Linked DNA regions of Homo sapiens: region 2 is linked to region 1. Evidence: promoter capture Hi-C in 16 types of primary human blood cells and fetal thymus (Javierre and others, 2016). All regions are on one chromosome and are shown on one strand. Each heading gives the region's core, a stretch centred on a gene start or on the middle of the fragment in contact. The rest is flanking DNA. Distances are from core to core; before and after follow the strand shown. Region 1 holds the start of SEC61G (SEC61 translocon subunit gamma). Region 2 holds the start of ZNF138 (zinc finger protein 138).

Evidence for each region. The method cuts DNA at HindIII sites, captures the fragments that hold promoters and counts their contacts. A CHiCAGO score of 5 or more calls a contact.
Region 2: the fragment with the promoter of ZNF138 here is called in contact with the fragment with the promoter of SEC61G in region 1 in 4 of 17 cell types (total CD4 T cells, naive CD8 T cells, naive CD4 T cells and 1 more); the score reaches 20.4 in total CD4 T cells.

Annotation. Positions count from the first base shown.
Region 1 is chr7:54,756,263-54,760,994 of GRCh38, reverse strand. It overlaps SEC61G (SEC61 translocon subunit gamma), which reads left to right and starts at 1,784. Exons shown (of 4, transcript NM_014302.4): 1 at 1,784-1,837; 2 at 3,401-3,500. The coding sequence starts at 3,407. It overlaps SEC61G-DT (SEC61G divergent transcript), which reads right to left and starts at 1,682. Exons shown (of 3, transcript NR_110040.1): 1 at 1,471-1,682. RefSeq lists an enhancer at 646-1,581 and a silencer at 1,815-2,134. The HindIII fragment of the contact is 2,422 bases long and covers 1,374-3,795 here.
Region 2 is chr7:64,792,651-64,797,199 of GRCh38, reverse strand. ZNF138 (zinc finger protein 138) reads right to left here and starts at 2,772. Exons shown (of 4, transcript NM_001271639.2): 1 at 2,629-2,772. The coding sequence starts at 2,631. RefSeq lists enhancers at 2,172-2,732, 2,517-2,756, 2,997-3,046. The HindIII fragment of the contact is 8,026 bases long and covers 1-4,549 here.

The sequences.
Region 1 (4,732 bases), core at 535-3,034:
CGGAGTCTTGCTCTGTTGCCCAGGCTGGAGTGCAGTCGTGTGACCTCAGCTCACTGCAACCTCCACCTCCCGGGTTCAAGGGATTCTCTTGCCTCAGCCTCCTGAGTAGCTAGGGTTACAGGCATGCGACACCATTCCAGACTAATTTTTGTATTTTTAGTGGAGACGGGGTTTCTCCACGTTGGTCTGGCTGGTCTCAAACTCCCGAAATCAGGTGAGTAGACAATTATAACAATACACTGTAATGAAAGTTATTTGAATGTGGCCTCTCCCAGATTACCTTCTGGTACACATCTCTTTTTGAACCAGATTTTCTTGGATAAGGGGAACCACTGTATGTGTTACTTGATTTTCTGTGTTTTGCTGAAAATACTGTCAACTCAGACATTTGGTGGTTGGGGTGAACTTGCCAACATGTGATTTTATGTTTTTTTGGAATGAATTATTTTTTTGAAAATTATTTATTGAGCATTTACTGTGTTTAGCACTTTACTAGATGCTATATTATACCCACTTGGAGCTTATGGTCTAGTAAGGGGATTTACAGTGTAGGGAGACAGACCGAGGAATAAATAAATAAATGTTAATACAAATGCTATGCAGCAAATGAAGAAGGTATTGTGAAAAAGGAAAAAAGAGCATGAGATAGACAGGATTGCCTTAGATGGTCACTATAGGCCTCTAAGGAGATGACACATGGGCTGAAGTCCCAGGGATGAAGAACTAGTCAAACGCATCTCAGTCTGTTCAGAATTTAAAAGTGACTCTTAAAGCTAAGGCAAGGTATGTGTAGTGTGTATGGACCACCTACAGTCAGATATACGGAGGTGTGTGACCTCTAACCCTGACCCACTGAATCAATATCTGGAGGTTCTGGGGTTACAAATTTCATTTACTAAAAAACTTAACAGGAGATTTCAGTTACTGAAGAAGTTTAAGAAGCACTGAGAGTTGTAACACGTCTTAATGTTCCATCAGCTCTTCCTGAGTTATATTGTTCCTCAGATCCCGTTATGCTCCATTGCTAAAAGGAAACATGGCCGGGCGCGGTGGCTCACGTCTGTAATCCCAGCACTTTGGGAGGCCGAGGCGGGTGGATCGCGAGGTCAGGAGTTCAAGACCAGCCTGGCCAATATGGTGAAACCCCGTCTCTACTGACGGTTTCAGCCATCCGGCGGGGGGTTCCTGGAATGCATCCTTGTGGGTAAGTGGGGAGCTGTGTGTACATTATGACCACTCCCGTAACCAAACCTAGCGTTTGACAAAGGCCTCAATTACAGCGGCATTCATTACCGTGAATGACAGCCAAAGTCAAAGTTTGGGGTGGGGATACTATTTTGAATTAGGCCATAACATTATATTGCTCATAAGCTTCATTTCGACCAACATTATATACATACAAAAAGTATGTACCGTAAGGACACACATCAAGCTGGACCGCAGGAAAAAAAACCACAACTTAGGATTTACCTAGTCAGCCGCTACTAGAGAGCAAGCACCGCGCAAGGCCGCTGGGGCTCGTGCTGTGGACGTGAGTGGGTTGAGGTCGGGCTGGTGGGGTAACCCGGGATCCAGCCGGAAAAAAGGGATAACGCTAGACTCACACTCCTAAGGAAGGCCAACGCCCCAACTAGCGAGCTCCGCAATGCATCTCTTCCAGGAAGCGTGGCCGGGCGCACGTCGCGCTGCGCTTGCGCACTGAGGTTTCGCGTAAGGAACCAATAGGACGGAGGAGTGGGCGGGCTGTTGGCAGAAACCCGGATTCCGGTTCCGGTGGGCCTCCATCAGCAAGCTCCAGTGCTACGTGTCCCTGGCATTTTAGGTGTCGGTTGGGTAGGTGAGTTTCTTCCCACCGGTCGGTACGGGCGAACGGGGCGGCCACACCTTTGCGACTCTTGGGGGCAGCGGGCGTGGGCGAGCCGGCGTGTCTCCCCGGGCGGCCGTCGCGGGGCGGGCGGTAAGTGGTCCCCTGGCTCAGGGCCGGGGTCTGGCCGCCGACATCCCACCAACTCGGCCTCTGGCGGAAGGCAGACCCAGGGCCGCGGACTCCCGGCGAGCTGGGTGGCCGGCCCGCGGGGCTCCAGGGCTTAGCGTCCTGCCCCGGCGTCTTCTGTGCTGCAGCCAAAGATGATGTCCTGCTGCCCGATCCCTTCGGGGTTGGCTCTGTGTGCTGTTGTGGAGTCCTGTCTGGGAAGAGCTGTACTCAGCTCTGGTCCTGCCGCCGCTTCCGTGGTTTAAAGTGAGAGCATTGGTCTAGAGTCTAGTTCGAGAGATCATAGTTGGTTTTTGGATCTCTACCCCTGACATTGAGTGCGGTATTGTGTGTAGCGTGCGTTTTTCTGGATAAAGAATTCTTAGCTTCCTTCGTGACAACTATGATTACAAAAAGTTTAAGCCCTTTGGATTTCAAGAGCAAAGTTGAGTGAAATACTGAGAAAACAGACATTACTGTGTTTTTGCCCCCAGAACGTTGCAGAATTCCTGGTGTTTCATTGACATTATTTCATTTCGTTGTCCACACCCTACACTAAGGAAGGCAACTGGGGCTTACAGAGGTTTACATTCCATAGCCAGTGATTTGAACTACCACCTGGCCACTGTTCTGAGTACTGGAAATGGAGGAAAATACAAATAACACCCTGGCTGCTTTACTTACTATAGCAGTGGCTCTCAAAGCTAAGATCGGATAACATTTCTATTGGGTAATAGATTCCTCAAAAGAACCTGTATGGTAAAATATATAGCCCTGTTTCCTTAAAAGATGTGTTCAAATCGAAAAGTTTGAAATTTAGCTAGTAGCTTCTCAGAATTTGCGTCTTCCTTTAGCCATTCTTTATACTTTAGAAAAGTATGTTGTATTGGCACGTTTTAGAAAAATCAAGGTTGAAATTCACGTTTGCCTCTATTCTAGGCTCTTGCAGCACCGTAGTTGGCATTCACTGTACAAGACACTGGCTTCTGCGTAGTTTAAAATAAAATATGGAAAGTAATTGTTGGATCTCAACACTGATGGTTCCTTAGGAGCGGTGAGGGGACTGTAGAATGAGAAATGGATGGGACTGCAGAGTGAGAAAAGGAATGGATGTGTTACCAATTGCGTAACCTTTTTTAACCTTTTAATAGAGATAGGCTTTTTATATTGCGTGTGCTGTTCTTTGTCAGTGAAGATATCATGAGTAAGATCTGTGCTTTTCTTATTGCCTTTGATAATTAACTGAAATTTCCAAAAATAATATCAATTTAGGCTTTGGAGTTTGTTTTTTGTTTTATTTTAGGAGGTGGAATTGACCCATGTTAGACGTGAATTCAGTGGCTGGTCTCATTTACATCTTTATATAAATGAGCAAGTGCTTATTGTATGAGAACCAATACCAGTGAGTATCTTTTTTGTTTTAAACAGGCAGTCATGGATCAGGTAATGCAGTTTGTTGAGCCAAGTCGGCAGTTTGTAAAGGACTCCATTCGGCTGGTTAAAAGATGCACTAAACCTGATAGAAAAGGTAATTGCTTGACTATGAGAGAAAAAATTAAATCTTTGCATTTTCTAAGCCTTTTGTTTGATTAACATCTTGATTAATAGCCCTTGCATTACTTTGATCAACATTTTTATTGATTGATCCTGCGCGACAGCTTTTTAACGTTGTCACTTCTTCCTAAATTTTTTACTCGTCTAAATTTTTATGTATTTTCAAATGGTGTAAGATTATTTATTACAGCCTTATGTTCCATGTAACATTTTAGTTAGTAACATTTTATGACTTTTAGTATCTTACATATTTTCTCTTTGGAAAAGCTTTGAAGTCTCCCTACTCAGCTCCCACCCCAACGAACAAAACCTTAACATGAAACCAACAATATAGTTTTTGCCAAACTAGAAAGTTAATTTTGTTATTTATCATGATTCATGTGTTAAATTTGTCTACTTTTATTCATTCATTGAGTTAGGAGCTGGTAATATAATAGAGAATATAACATGTATATAATATAGTATATAGTATATAATATAGTATATAGTATATAGTATATATAGTATATAGTATATATATAGTATAGTATATAGTATATAATATAGTATATAACATGTATATATTATAGTAAAGAGAATAGTCCTTGCTGTCATGGAGCTTAGACTCTTACCAAGGAAGACTGTCATAAACAAATTATTGCGGTTATATTTTTTAATTACTGCTGTGTTAAGTATTATGGAAGATAACTAGAAGGAAGTTTGACAGCACATAATAGGAGGACTAACCAAGTCAGGAGATCAGGGAAAGCTTCTCTTAGGAAGTAACATAAAATGACAACATTACCAGTGTAATGTTTTATAAAATTGTGCTCAACTCAGACAGAGTCTCACTCTGTTGCCCAGGCTGAAGTGCAGTGACGCGATCTCGGCTCACTGCAACCTCCGCCTCCTGGGTTCAAGCAATTCTGCCTCAGCCTCCTGAGTAGCTGGGATTACAGGCATGCGCCACCACGCCCGGCTAATTTTTGTATTTTTAGTGGAGCCAGGGTTTCACCATGTTGGCCAGGCTGGTCTTAAACTCCTGACCTCGGGTGATCTGCCCACTTCGGCCTCCCAAAGTGCTGAGATTACAGGCACAAGCCACTGGGCCCAGCCCAGTTTGATTTTTCAAGTCTTATTTTTGGCTTCATCATAATAGCAAAGGCACCGGACCCATCGTTTATAATGTACCCAAAAAAGGTATGTTTCTGCCCATATAATTGATAT
Region 2 (4,549 bases), core at 1,523-4,022, about 10 Mb before region 1:
ATCAAGATGACTGGATACAGAAGAGAGGTATTCACTGAAATGTACCCTGAAAAAGGAGGAACTGATATTTTCATGAATCTGTATAACTCACCAATTATCTACCACATCTTCTTGTGGAAATGTATTCATTTTCTTTCTTTCTTTTTTCTTGAGATGGAGTCTCGCTCTGTCGCCCAAGGTGGAGTGCAGCCGCACGATCTCAGCTCACTGCAACCTCTGCCTATGGGGTTCAAATGATTCTCCCACCTCAGCCTCCCGAATAGCTGGGATTACAGGTGCCTATCACCATTCATGGCTAATTTCTAATTTTTGTATTTTTAGTAGAGATGGGGTTTCACCATGTTGGCCAGGCTGGTCTAGAACTCCTGACCTCAGGTGATCTCCCTGCCTTGGCCTCCCACAGTGCTGGGATTTCAGGCATGAGCCACCGCACCCCGCCGGAAATGTATTCGTTTTCCACAGCCAAAATGGAAGAAGTATTTTCCCTATTCTTTTCCTTGGTAGCATTCTAAAAGCTAAGCCTTGGAATACTCTTGGACATCACCCAGCCATAAAAAAACAGACCTGAGAAAATTCCTAAACTCAGTCTGGGAAAGAAAAAGGTAAATGAGAATACTTAACAAATAGAATATATGATTAGATATTTTTTTCCAAAACCCATCTCTTTCATGCCCATTCTAATTATCCTCTTACCTTTTAGTCCTACTAATAAACTGCAAGTTACAATTAAAACACTGAAGTAAGTGAACAAATCTTTTCAGGGTGACAATCCCAGGGAGTGGCAGTGCTGATTAAAAAACAGATGTATCTCACTCACATGTCAAGTCAAGCCACCCAATCACTTGAGAGATTCTCCCACCCCATCCTGCTCACTTAAGTGCTAAACGACCACCCTCTCTGAAGACCACCCTCTCTGAAGACGCTGCACTATGCCTCAGTGACTGCCCCAAGTACATTTCACTTTGCAAGTTCTTGAACCATCTCACTGGGGTAAGGTTTGATTTGTCTTTTTGGATACTATCATTTCTTTCACAAATCTTAGAGAATCCAGTGGGCCGAAATTATTTCTGTGTTCTCCCCTCAATACCAGCATATGATTGATTGACCAGCAATATGTCTCCGGAAATGGACACTGGGTTGGTTTGAAGACAATCTTAACTTCTCAAAGGGTTTGCTTTTCAAAGGAAGAGTACACCAGGAGATTCCTCTCAGCCCCAGGGCATTCACCTGCTCCCTTGAGAGGCTACACTCCAACCTCAGGTTGTCCTCTGTCTCCCATTCCCAGATAACCAGAGTTCATTCCAGGCCAGGAGCTGAAATTTACCAGAGATTCTAGCATACACAGCCACAGTGGATATTTTGATTTATCCTCAGAAAGTACTGAAACCCAGGACCAAGGAAAAAACTGAAGAGTGACTAAGGACACATTACCTTATAAAGTTTCCAAAGGGAAACCTTGACCCAAAAATATTCTGATAAGATCTCTGTACCTAGGGAAGATTTAAAAAAAAAAAAAAAGGCACAGAGATTTTTTACAATACAGCATCAGGGGATGAGTCTTTGGTTTCTTCTCATGGGAAATATTTACAAACAGATAACAAATCTTTTTTAAAATGCCATCCATGCTTTGTCAAAAAATGATTAATTAAAATACAGTATTTCAAATGTACACTAAAGGACAAATAGTTGATAATGTGAATTAGGAAGGGGAAGTTGGCATTTGGGAATGTCAGAAGGAACTGGAAATTTAGTATTTTACTGCAAGCCAGAGTTAGGCTGAAGGAATGGGAAATGGGGAGGGGGAGGAGTCTTGAGACCCTGCTTGGGACACATGTGAAAAATGAAGGGGAAGATCTGTCCCCTGTGGAGTGTGAAAATAATTAAGTGGCAGGCAATTAGACTGAGGTCGCTCCAGTCCCAGGGTTTCTGGTTTTAAAAAAATCTAACTCAAATGCATTTTTTTGTAAATTACTACCTTGTGAAAAATAAAATTCATGTTTAACCAACTGTAAACTGCCAATTAACCTCTGATTACATGACCAGGAAATTTCCTCCTTCATTGTACAAATTAAGAAACTACATAACTCTACTAACCAATTACTGAATTTGGTTTTATCATACACCTTATACAAGTGTTTCCTTCAAACCCCTCCCACGGACCACTACTGCAAACCACAGCTGGGTGCTCCACAATTCTTGAATCACTGTTTGATTAAATTAATTTTTTTGCGGTGACTTTCATAAATTTTAATAGGGGAAAAGAGGGACAGGGAAGCCCGCGGAGGAAACCTCTTCCCATTCATGAACCCAGCACCCCGAGTCAGGATTCTCCCCTGACGACCCTCCCGTCGTCTCTGCACAATCGCTGCGGGTGCAGAGCTGCTCAGAGAGGGCTCCAGGCCAGGGCACAGTCACTGCGCAGGGAGGAGACAGGACGCCTGGTTCCGGCTGTCAGCCCAGCTGCCATGCTATGGCTTAAGGGGACTGAGGGCCGAGCTGTGCCAAGAACTCGGGGCCGCGGATTTTGCAGCCGACTGCGGGAAGACCCGAGTACTGCCACAGCCACTTCCGACCGGTTCCAACCAGCTCCCTCCCCCTCTCTCGGGATGTCGGACCCAGCACTCTCACCATTTCTAGGCTTCCGGGGGATCCTGGCGTCTTAGCTGTGAATCTCCCAATAACCAGATCACAGCGCCACAGAGGCTGGGCCTCTAGGAGTAAGAGGACGCAGAAAAGTGAAGGCCAGACCTGCAGCACCCGCTGCAGCGAGACAAAGACCCCGCCGCCTCCCGGAAGACGTCATGTCCGCTCCAGCTGGGTGCCTGATTGGACCGTTCCCAGCCCGGCGTCCCTGATTGGATAACGTTTAACAACCCGCCCCCTCAGGCCCTGAGTGACAGATGTGCTCAGGTGCTGGGCTGAAGGAAGACAGAGTTAAACCTAAGCAGCAGCCTTTTCCAGAAGGGCTTCCTCCCTGAGCTGAGTCAGGCCCACCCCAGAGGGCATTTGCATTTAACCTTGTGTATAAGGTCGTATGCATTTATAAATAACATATAGCTATTCACATCTGAATATAACAATTATTTTTAAATTCCAGATTTTATAACCGTACTGGCTTCTGGTCCTTTGAGCAGGCAGCCTGAGATTTTTTTCTTTTTTTTTTTTGAGACAGAGTCTCACTCTCACCCAGGCTCAAGCACAGTGGCACGATTTCGGCTCACCCCAAACTCCGCATCTCGGGCTCAAGTGATTCTCCTGCCTTAGCCTCCTGAGTAATTGGGATTACAGGCACCCGCCTCCACGCCCGGCTACTTTTTGTATATTTAATAGAGACAGAATTTTGCCATGTTGGTCAGGCTGATCTCGAACTCCTGACCTCAGGTGATCCACCTGCCTCGGCCTCCCAAAGTGCTGGGATTACAGAGCACATGTGAATTCCAAATTTTCTAGTAGTCAAACTTTAAGAATAAACAGGTGGAATTCACTCTAATTGAGATGGTTAGTCATTTAGGCTGGGCTCAGTGAGACCATTCTTGTGACCTCAGCTGAGTTCCTTCAGACATGTATCATCAGCTGCTTGTTGACTAGGCAGCTGTGCTTCTGGGGGTGAGCTTCTGCTTCTGAGGCTGTCAACAGAGGCAACTTGCTTCTCCTCCCCATACTATTTTATCTTCCATCTGGCTAACATGGGCTTTTTTCGCGGAGATAGTAGCCTTCTGAAAGAAAAACAGAAGCATGCAAAACCATTTGAGCCTACGCCTCAAACTAGCACACTGCACTGTTCACAGGTTTTTACTGCCCTGAGCAAATAAGGCCAGCCAGATCTAGGGTTTGGAAAACAGAACTGGATCTCAATGGAAACAGCTGTAAATGCACCTGGCAATGGGCATGGATAGCGGAGGGATGAAAAATTGCTAACATTTTTGCAATCAGTATCATTCTGCCTTTTTTTGCATATGTGGTTTATATAACTCTTCCACATCAAAAAAAAAAAAATTTGTGCAAAGACCCACAGCTATTAAGTGGCTGGGCTGGGACTCAGAATTAACTCCATTTGACCCTTGAAATCCTGGAGAGTGACACTTCTAAAATAGAAGCCAGATTTCTTTTAGATTTGTGCCCATATAGCACTGTTTATTATTATTGCTAGAAATAATCTTAAGAAATTGAAGAAGCACACGGTAGCTCACATCTATAATCCTAGCACTTTGGCAAGCTGAGATGGGAGAATCACTTGCGCTCAGGAGTTCAAGTGCAGCCTGAATAACATAGTTAAGATCCTATGTGCATGAAAATTTTTTTTTTTTTAATTAGCCAGTCATGGCCGGGCGCGGTGGCTCATGCCTGTAATCCCAGCACTTTGGGAGGCCGAGGAGGGCAGATCACGAGGTCAGGAGATCGAGACCATCCTGGCTAACACGGTGAAACCCCGTCTCTACTAAAAATACAGTCCCAGCTGCTCGGGAGGCTGAGGCAGGAGAATGGCATGAACCCACGAGATGGGGCTTGCAGTGAGCCAAGATCCCACCACTGCACTCCAGCCTGGGTG